Linked DNA regions of Homo sapiens: region 2 is linked to region 1. Evidence: promoter capture Hi-C in 16 types of primary human blood cells and fetal thymus (Javierre and others, 2016). All regions are on one chromosome and are shown on one strand. The core of a region is centred on a gene start or on the middle of the fragment in contact, and the rest is flanking DNA. Distances in the headings are between cores, read along the strand shown. Region 1 holds the start of HARS2 (histidyl-tRNA synthetase 2, mitochondrial). Region 2 overlaps ANKHD1-DT (ANKHD1 divergent transcript).

Evidence for each region. The method cuts DNA at HindIII sites, captures the fragments that hold promoters and counts their contacts. A CHiCAGO score of 5 or more calls a contact.
Region 2: a contact is called between a fragment that was not itself captured here and the fragment with the promoter of HARS2 in region 1, in 11 of 17 cell types (naive CD4 T cells, endothelial precursors, non-activated CD4 T cells and 8 more). The highest score is 8.7, in naive CD4 T cells.

Annotation. Positions count from the first base shown.
Region 1 is chr5:140,687,915-140,692,957 of GRCh38, reverse strand. It overlaps HARS2 (histidyl-tRNA synthetase 2, mitochondrial), which reads right to left and starts at 1,503. Exons shown (of 13, transcript NM_012208.4): 1 at 1,202-1,503. The coding sequence starts at 1,309. HARS1 (histidyl-tRNA synthetase 1) reads left to right here and starts at 1,588. Exons shown (of 13, transcript NM_002109.6): 1 at 1,588-1,743; 2 at 2,014-2,103. The coding sequence starts at 1,654. RefSeq lists enhancers at 1,252-1,321, 1,402-1,491, 1,652-1,881 and promoters at 1,153-1,469, 1,534-1,560, 1,532-1,653, 1,203-1,653. The HindIII fragment of the contact is 4,332 bases long and covers 1-3,924 here.
Region 2 is chr5:140,383,245-140,388,868 of GRCh38, reverse strand. The region is part of intron 1 of ANKHD1-DT (ANKHD1 divergent transcript); the gene reads left to right. LOC124901087 (a long non-coding RNA gene) reads right to left here. Exons shown (of 2, transcript XR_007058967.1): 2 at 2,080-2,296. Among named protein-coding and RNA genes, the nearest start is that of ANKHD1-DT, 15 kb to the left of the region's middle. The HindIII fragment of the contact is 1,149 bases long and covers 1,180-2,328 here.

The DNA.
Region 1 (5,043 bases), core at 254-2,753:
ATTATGGTGATCTTCTCCAGGTCACCGTTCCTACTGAAAGAGCAAAAATAATTTTTTTTTTTTTTTCAGATAGAGTCTTACTCTGTCGCCCAGGCTGGAGTGCAGTGGCACGATCTCAGCTCCTGCAACCTCCGCCTCCCGGGTTCAAGCGATTCTCCTGTCTCTGCCTCCCGAGTAGCTGGGATTACAGGCACATGCCACCACGCCCGGCTAATTTTTGTATTTTTAGTAGATACGGGGTTTCGCCATACAGGTCAGGCTGGTCTCAAACTCCTGACCTCAGGTGATCCACCCCCCTTGGCCTCCCAAAGTGATGGGATTACAGGCATGAGCCACTGTGCCCGGACAAAAAAATAATAATTTTTAATAAGGTAGCACTGGTTATCAGGTTTAGAGAGAGGAAAACTGTAACTTGAAGACAAGGGAACCAGCTCAAGGACACAGAACAAGCCTGTGGAATGATAAGATATGGATTTCTTGAATGAGCTAAAAAACTCAGACTGATAAGATGCTGTGATTGAATATCAATAAAAGATCTGTGCCCTATTGTTCACGATAGCACAAAGCATCTGCTAAGAGAGCATTAGAATCTTTCCGAAGTAAGGCAAAACTTAATCAGTGACATTACCAGCACGCTGTATGCCCTTCCAAAAATAGAGGATGTGGTGGTTCCATACTATGGCGATTATCTGCCCTAAGAGAAGTCCAAGTTCAAGTACACAATCCCTTATCTGCAATTCCAAAATCCAAAACTCTCTGACATCTGAAAATGTTTTTCTGAGATTCATTTTGAGGTAAATTCTAAGATGAACTCAGTCTACTTCTGATCTTTAGTCATCTCATTTACTAGGAATATTCATATATTTCGCTTAAAAATGTTACTGTTTGAGTCCAAGAGTTTCAGGAAAAAGTGTGGATATGAATTAAAATACTCCCTTACTACATATCCGTGTATAAGTCATTCATTTAATCTTGCAGCCTCCGTTTCCTCAACTGCAGAATGGAAATCAAAACTCCAACCTCTCAAGATTGCTCCAAGGATTAAATGACCAGGCATCCAAATCGCTTAGTTCAGTGTCAGTACATAGTGGGCACTCGATAAAAACCGATTGTAACACTACTGGAATACAGGCCGCGAGGCTATGCGTTCAGATCTGGAGACCCTGCTGGGACAGACCAGAGATAATTCTGTCTCGCTCACCTGGCTTTGGCAACGGACCGCCCCGGTGCACGAAGCGCAGGGCGGTCGCAGGAGCTGGCTGAGCAGCGAAGCCCAGGCCCTCCTGGGAAGAAGTCCGAGCAGGGGCATCGCGCGGCAGGACGCCGGCTTTCCGGGACAGGAACAAAAGGCCTGGGAAGGAGGCGGGTCAGACACCAGGAAGGGTGGAGGGCACTGCAAAGGCGGAACCCGCGCACCAGGGAAAACTCGGGCGTTTGCGCACCTCACTAGTCACGAAGGCTGAGGTGGGATCCTCCCAAGTTCCCTTAGTAGCCAGCTTCGGCACTTCCGGGAGGAGCCGGAAATAATTTTTGTGCTCGGCGGAGGCTCTCTAGGCGTGCGACCCAGCGACTCGATAGCCGGAAGTCATCCTTGCTGAGGCTGGGGCAACCACCGCAGGTCGAGACAGCAGGCGGCTCAAGTGGACAGCCGGGATGGCAGAGCGTGCGGCGCTGGAGGAGCTGGTGAAACTTCAGGGAGAGCGCGTGCGAGGCCTCAAGCAGCAGAAGGCCAGCGCCGAGCTGGTGAGATTTAGGCAGCAGGGGAGAGGGCCAAGGCAAAGCCTGGGAGGACGTAAAGCCAGGGTGTTCGGGACATAGGGTAGAGATGTGAGGGAAGCGACCAGTCTTGTAGGGAGGAGAGTGGGCTGCGTGGGGAGACATCCGGGGTGGGTCCCGAGAGAAACAAAGCTAGGCCTGAGCAGAGAGATGTGATGAGGGAGGAATATTGAATGAATGGCGGGGGAGGGAGGAGAGTGACAGATGGATAGCTCAGCGCCTTCTTTCCCTCCACAGATCGAGGAGGAGGTGGCGAAACTCCTGAAACTGAAGGCACAGCTGGGTCCTGATGAAAGCAAACAGAAATTTGTGCTCAAAACCCCCAAGGTAATATCATTCCTGTAGGGAGCCACTGAGAAAGTCTCTAACTCTACTCACGGGGCGCTTATGTCTGCCTCCCTAAACCAGGTCATTGAGGAGGATCTGAAATGCTGCAGAGGAGAGGACAGTCGCTCTGGGCGCTGGGCTGGACTGGACTCTACCTGAGTCATTCTGGGATGGCAAAGTGATGGCAGAAACTAGGCCAGCTGGGTGATCAGGGGAGTCAGCCTGCTGCTGCTACTCCTTCGTTCATTCAATAAATGTGTATTTAGCGCTATGTCTCTAGCACTATACAAAGCACTGAATATATACCATGGTGGACAATATAGCCTACCCTCATGGAGCTTACATTCTACTGAAGGAGAGAGACTTAGAACAAATAATCCCACACAGATTTTTTTGTTTTTTTTTTAAACAGAGTATCCTCTGTTGCACAGGCTGGAGTGCAGTGGCACATCTTGGCTCACTGCAGCCGCTGCCTCCTGGGTTCAAGCGATTCTCCTGCTTCAGCCTCCTGAGTAGCTGGGACTACAGGTGCCCACCACCATGCCCAGCTAATTTTTGTATTTTTAGTAGAGACGGGGTTTCACCATATTGGCCAGGATGGTCTTGAACTTCTGACCTCAAGTGATCTGCCCGCCTCAGTCTCCCAAAGTGCTGGGATTACAGACGTGTGCCACCGCACCCGGCCACCACATGTGGTTATGTAATTACATATTGTGAAAAATGATATAAAGAAATTAAGGTTGCTCTGAGAAAAATAAGGGAGAACTGGGGAGTCTGAGAAAGGCTAACTGAGGAAGTGATATACTAACTGATCTAATGAATGAGTAGGAGATAGCCAGAGGACAAGTGTGACAAAGATAGGTCCAGGTAGAGTATGGAAACCCTAAAGTGGGAAAGAACTTTGGTAGTTTTGAGGAACTAGAGGATGATCTACATGGCTAGAACTAAGTTAAGGAGAGTAGAGTGGAATGAGGTTGGAGATTCTGAGCTCATCCTCCAGTTCAGTTCCACTTTCTGTAAGTTCTATAAACAGAACTGTTTACCCCTTCATCTAGGTGCTCTTGGCACTTCATACATATTTGTTATTACACCAACTTTAAGTAGTTATTTATGTCGTTTATTTACCCTGAGACTGAGACTAGATGCCTAAATAGGTATAGTCAGCCCTCCATATCCCAAGGTCCCACATTCACAGATTCAACCAACTGTGGATCAAAACCATTCAGGGGAAAAGAAACGATTAAGAAAAAAAATCTGGCTGAGTGTGGTGGCTTACACCTGTAATCCCAGCACTTTGGGAGGCCACAAGGGGAGGATCATTTGAGCCCAGGAGCTTGAGACCAGCCTGAGCAACATAGTGAGTCCCTATCTCTAAAAACAAACAAACAAATAAAAACCTTTTGAAATCTAACAATAAAAATTTCAAATAAAAAATATAGTATAGCAACTATTTACATAGCCTTTACATTGTCTAAGGCATTATAAACACTCTAGAGACTATTTAAAGTATATAGGAGGATGTGCATATAATTTTATGTCAAGGGCTTGAGCATCCATGGATTTTTGGTATTCACATGGGGCCCAGAACAAATCTCCTGTGGATACTGAGGGATGATTCTATTTAATACATGTATTTGAAATTGAATTCCAAAGGAGAGGGGAGATGGTCTGTTTTCCTTGTGTTAAGGTTAATTCTTTGGGATCCTAAATTCATTGAGCTGTTTCTTTCTACATATAACTAATTTTTGAAGGTTAAAGAGACAGTGTAAAATCCCAAAGTGGTGATCATCAATGATTTTTCAAACTATTAGATGAAAAGCTTACTGTGGAATTTATGATGGATCAGTCTGTCCTCACTAGTGATCAGTTTTAACATCACTAAAAGTAGGACAACTAGACATTATGTTCCTGCTGATGTGATGCAAGAAGAAGTACACAGCACCACCTGGGAAGTATTCTTGCCAAGTAAATTGAACTTGAATCTAATCAGATCTTTGGACTAACTATCAGTTTACAGGAAATACTAGAGATGGAGGAACATGTTAGATGGCACATCAAGCATATTGTTCACCAAATCTAGAATGTGAAAATTTTTTTTTAGGACAAATGGCCCAATTTCCTCAGTTAATAAATGACCTTTTTAAAATAAAAAAAAAAAGTTGGGGAGGGAAGGAAACTATTGTAGATTAAATAGACATATCAGCTGATTACAACGCATAGACTTCATTCTGAAGCTGATTCAAATAAATCAACCATAAAAAGATATTATTGAGGCAACTGGGGAAAACTGACCATGGCTTAGCATTAGATAATATTAAGGAGTTGCTGTTAGTTTTGTTAGTTATAATAAAGATAGAGTCTTTGGGGTTTTTTAAATGTCCGTATGAGTTAGAGATTCATACTGAAGTATTTATGGATGAAATGATATGACGTCTGGGATTTATTTAAAAATATGTAAGAAAAACATGTCAGGGCTTAAATGAAATAAGAATAGCAGATGTTAATGGTTGTTGAAGCTGGGTAATGGATAAATGGTGACCTGTAATACTATTCTCTATATTGTGTCTTTGAAAATTTCCATACTATAGTGTTAAGATTATGCTAGAGAGTTAATATCCATTTTAGTATTAACAATAGAAAACTCAGTATTGTGGGGACAAGACTCTTTCAAGGGATCTTCATGGTCAAAACTATTTCTATAATAATTCTTTTGTTTTGTTTTGTTTTGTTTTGTTTTGTTTTGTTTTGTTTGAGACGGAGTCTTGCTCTGTCGCCCAGGCTGGAGTGCAGTGGCGTGATCTCAGCTCACTGCAACCTCCGCCTCCCGGGTTCAAGCGATTGTCCTGCCTCAGCCTTCCGAGTAGCTGGGACTACAGGGATGTGCCACCGCACCTAGCTAATTTTTTGTATTTTTAGTACAGATGGGGTTTCACCGTGTTG
Region 2 (5,624 bases), core at 505-3,004, 300 kb after region 1:
GGGATTACAGGCATGCACTACCACACCCAGCTTTTTATTTTATTTTATTTTAAGATGGAGTCTCGCTCTGTCACCCAGCCTGGAGTGCAGTGGCTTGATCTTGGCTCACTGCAACCTCCATCTCCCAGGTTCAAGCAATTCTTCTGCCTCAACCTCCCAAGTAGCTGGGACTACAGGAGCCCGCCACCACACCCAGCTAATTTTGTATTTTTAGTAGAGACAGGGTTTCACTATGTTGGCCAGTCTGGTCTTGAGCTTCTGACCTCAGATGATCCACCCGCCTTTGCCTCCCAAAGTGCTGGGATTACAGGGAGGAGCCACCGCGCCTGGCCATATTGCCACAATTCTCAGAGTATGCTCTATAGATTCCTGCAGCCCTCAAGACCTTTTCAGGGGAATCCATGAAGTCAAAACTATTTTCATTATAATTCTAATATATTATTTTTCACTATATTGACTTGCACTGATGGTACAAAAGCAATGGGGGGGGGGGCTAAAAATTTGCTGGTACTGCTGGGTGTGGTGGTGCACGCCTGTAGTCCCTGCTACTCAAGAGGCCAAGGCAGGAGGATTGCTTGAGCCCAGGAGTTTAAGGCTACAGTGAGCTATGATCTCACCACTGCAATCCAGCCTGGGCAACAGAGTGAGCTCCTGTTTCTAAAAAACAAACAAAGATAGCTGGTACCTCAGCACAGTATTAGGTAATGGTATCAAACTGTACTAGCAGTAAATGTATTCTTCCCCATTGGGCACTCAAAGCAGGAAAAGGCCGATTTTATTAAGAATCCTTGATGAAGCAGTAAAAATTAATTTTATTAAAACTTGACCCTTGAGTACAAGTGTTTTTAATATTCTATGTGAGGAAATGAGAAGGATACACAGAGCACTTCTGCTATATATCAAAGTACATTTGTTATCTCAAGGAGCATAGCTATTTTGGTTGCAAGCTGCATTGGCCTTTTTTGTTTTCATAGAACACCATTTTTACTTGAAAATAGCACTGACAGGCAAATGTTGGTAATTCAGATGTGGATATTTGGCAGACATTCTCTGGAGCCTGTCACTTGAAGGAAAACACCTGACAATATTTATTTCCAATGATAAAATTCAAAACCTTTGAGCAAAAATGAGAATTTTGGAAAATTGTATATATTCCTGGTTGACAGTTTTCTAAAAGCTTTAAAAACTTTTTTGATGAGATAAATCATGGTATTAATAAATGTGTTTTTTATATTATATAATAAAAATGTGTCAATATTTGAAAGATCTGCACAGTTCAGTGAACCAATGTTTTCCAAATGACCAATCATGATGTTACAAAATCATACATGTGTAAAAGATCCACTGAAAGTATATTAGGCCAGGCGCGGTGGCTCATGCCTGTAATCCCAACATTTTGGGAGGCCAAGGCAGGTGGATCACTTGAGGTCAGGAGTTCGAGACCAGACTGGCCAACATAGTGAAACCCCGTCTCTATTAACAATACAAAAATTAGCTGGGTATGGTGGTGAGCACCTGTAGTCCCAGCTACTCGGGAGGCTGAGGTATGAGAATCGCTTGAACCCAGGAGGCAGAGGTTACAGTGAGCTGAGATGGCACCACTGCACTCCAGCCTGGGCAACAGAGCGAGACTCCATCTAAAAAAAAAAAAAAGAAAGTACATAATAGGCCTGTAATCCCAGCACTTTGGGAGGCTGAGGCAGGAGGATCGCTTGAGCCCACGAGTTCCAGACCAGCCTGGGCAACATAGGGACACCCTGTCTCTACAAATAATTTTTTTTGATTAGGGCTGGGCACCGTGGCTCATGCCTATAATCCCAGCACTTTGGGAGGCCAAAGCTGGAGGATCACTTGAGCTCAGAAGTTCAAGATCAGCCTAGGCAACATGGCAAAACCCTGTCTCTACTAAAAATATAAAAAATTAGCTGGGTGTGGTGGCACATGCCTGTAGTCTGAGGTGGGAGGATCGCCTGAGCCCAGGAAGTCAAGGCTGAAATGAGCAGTGATTGCAGACACTGCACTCCACCCTGGGTAGCTGAGCAAGACCCTGTCTCAAAACAACAACACAGAATGAAAGTATGTGATAGACCAATGGATTTTAATATAACAGAGTATGGACATTTTATAGTTATGGTCTCAACCTTTAAGAAACTAACAGTTGTTGGATTTTGGTGTATTGAAGGGAATATCCAGTTTTCTGAAAAATCTGTTGAAGTATTTCTTCCTTTTCCAACTACATAGCTGTGTTGAGCCAGATTTTCTTCATATTCTTCAACCAAAACACTCATGGATTTGACTGAATACAGAAGCAGATATAAGAATCAAGCTTTTATAAAGCCAGACATTGAAGATGCCACTCTTCTCATTAAATTTTTTTGTTTTGAAAAAAATTTTTTTGGTCAGCTGTGGTGGCTCATGCTTGTAATCCCAGCACTTTGGGAAGCCGAGGCAGGCAGATTCACCTGAGGTCAGGAGTTCGAGACCAGCCTGGTCAACATGGTGAAACCCCGTCTCTACTAAAAATACAAAAATTAGCCAGGCATGGTGGCGTGCACCTGTAATCCCAACTACCTGGGAAGCTGAGGCAGGAGAATTGCTTGAACCCCAGCAGCTGAGGTTGCAGTGAGCCAAGATTGCATCATTGCCCTCCAGCCTGGGCAACAAGAGTGGAAACCCGTCTCAAAAAAAAAGAAAAAGAAAGAAAGAAAATGGCAGAGGAAGCCGGGCACAGTGGCTCACACCTGTAATCCCAGCACTTTGGGAGGCTGAGGTGGGCAGATTACTTGAGCTCAGGAGTTTGAGACCAGCCTGGCCAACATGGTGAAACTCCATCTCTACAAAAGATACAAAACTTAAATGAGCATGGTGGCAGGCGCCTATAGTCCCAGCTACTTGGGAGGTTAAGGTGGGAGGATCGCTTGAACCCAAGAAGCAGAGGTTGCAGTGAGCTGACATCCCACCAATGCACTCCAGCCTGGCTGACACAGCAAGACTGTCTCAAAAATAGATAGGGAAAATAGCAGAGGATCTAGTGAAGGAACATGGTCTAGTTTGCATCACTGCACATTATAATCCCCTTTGTAAGTGGATATATTAATGGAAGGTGAACAAACATGTCTCTGAAAACAACCTGGAGAAACCCCCCAAGGCCATGATTCTTCCCTTGGGTTCACTTAGCTAGTAGGTTCCTGGAATTGGTACTGAAAAATTCCCCAGTTCTTGTCCAGAAGTGGTAATTCCTTTGGTCTTGGAGGCCCTAGAGGTTTTCAACCTCCCCATTTTGACCTTGCTGTTAGGTTCTGGCCCTTACCATTCTTTTTATTTTTTAACAGCTTTATTTTTTTTATCTATTTTTTTTTAGAGACAGAGTCTTGCTCTGTTGCCCAGGATGGAGTGCAGTGGTGCAACCATAACTCACTGCAACCTGAAACTCCTGGACTCAAGCAATCCTCCTACCTTGGCCTCCCAAAGTGCTGGGATCACAGACATGAGCTACTGCACCCCACCTTAATAGCTTTCTTAAAATATAACTCACATATCACACAATTCACTCAAAGTGTTCAAGTCAATAACTTTTATTATATGCAGAGCTGTGCAATCATCACATCTTTTTTTTTTTTTTTTAACTTTTAGAGATGAGATCTTGCTATGTTGCTCAGGCTGGAGTGCAGTGGCTGTTCACATACAAGATCATAGCACACTGTGGCCTCTAACTCCTGGCCTCAGCCTCCTGAGTAGCAGGAACTACAGGTGTGTGCCACCATGCCGTGCTTATCACATCTATTTTAGAACATTTTCTTCACTCCTAAAAAGAATTCCTGCACCCCATAGCCATTATCCCTAGGCCCCCAGCCCTAGGCAACCACTAGTTCACTTTATGACTTTATAGATTTGCCTATTATGGATATTTCATATAAATGGAATAATATATGATCCTTGTAACTGGCTTCATTCACTTAGAATGATGTTTTTCAAGGTTTATTCTTCTTGTAGCATGTGTGGGTGCTGCATTCCATTTTATGGCCAAATAATATTTCACTGTATGGATATAACACATTTTACTTATCCATTCATCAGTTTGGGTTGGTGACTCTTTTGGGTTATTTCTACTTTTTGTCTGTCATAAATAATGCGGCTATGAACATTTGTGTATGTCTTTATGTGGACATAAGTTTTAAATTATCTTGGGTCCCTTATCAGTTTTATATTTGCAAATATTTTATCCCATTCTGTGGGTTGTCTTTTCACTTTCTAGGCAGTGTCATTTGGTGCACAGAAGTTTTTTATTTTGATGATGTCCAATTTGTTTTTTTTTTTCTTTTGTTCCTTGTGCTTTTGGTATCATATCTAAGAAACCATTGCCAAATCCAAGGTCATAAAGATTTATACCTATGTTTTCTTCTAAGAAATATTTTAGCTCTTACATTTAGGTTATTGATCCATTTTGAGTTAATTTTTACATACGATGTGAAGTAGGTGTTCAGCTTCATTCTTTTGCATGTGGATATCTAGTTTTCTCAGCACCATGTATCAAAAAGATGATCCTTTCAGTCAGGCACGTTGGCTCATGCCTGTAATCCCACACTTTGGGAGGCTGAGGTGGGTGGATCACCTGAGGTGAGGAGTTCAAGACTAGCCTGGCCAATATGGTGAAACCCTGACTCTACTAAAAATATAAAAATTAGCCCGGTGTGGTGGTGCACGCCTGTAGTCCCAGCTACTTGGGAGGCTGAGGTGGGAGGATTGCTTGAACCTGGGAGGCAGAGGTTGCAGTGAGCCGAGATCATGCTACTGCACTCCAGCCTGGGCAACAGAATGAGACTCCCATCTCAAAAAAAAAAAAAAAAAAAGAAAGAAAAAGAAAAAGAAAAAAGACTATTTTTTCACCATTGAATTGTCTTGGCAACCTTATCAAAAATTAATTGACCATAAGTGTGAGGGTTTGTTTCTGGACTATCAATTCTACTTATCTGTATGTCTATCCTTATGACAGTACCACACACTGTCTTGATTATTATAGCTTTGTAGTAAGTTCTGAAATCAGAAAATGCGAGTCCTCCAACTTGGTTCTTCATTTTCAAGATTGTTTTGGCTATTCTAGGTTGGCCACTACTATTCTTACCCCAAGTGGCAAGGCTCCCTTGCCCACACTACTTCTTCCAAGGCATTAATTATGGTGACCTATAAACCCTAATCCTCACCCTCTCCAACCTCATCCTGCAATATTCTCTCTCTCACTCCTCCACTCCAGCAAGATAGTCCTTCTTTCAGTTTCTCAAGCATTTCAAAGTTTTTCCTGCCTGATGGCCTTTGAACTCATGTTTCCTTTGCCAAGAATGTTTCCCTCCACCCTCCACTTCCTCCTTCCTTTTATCAAGGCTGACTTTTTTTTTTTTTTTTTCTTGAGACAGAGTCTCACTCTGTTGCCCAGGCTGGAGGACAGTACAACAATCTAATCATGGCTCACTGCAGCCTCAAATTCCTGCGCTTGAGCAATCCTTCCATCTCACCCTCCCTCATAGCTGGGACTACAGGCATGTACCACGGCACCCAGCTTATATGTGTTTTTCTACTAGAATGTCTCCATTCTAGTAGGGGAGACAGAAAAATACAGGAGAGGAGAG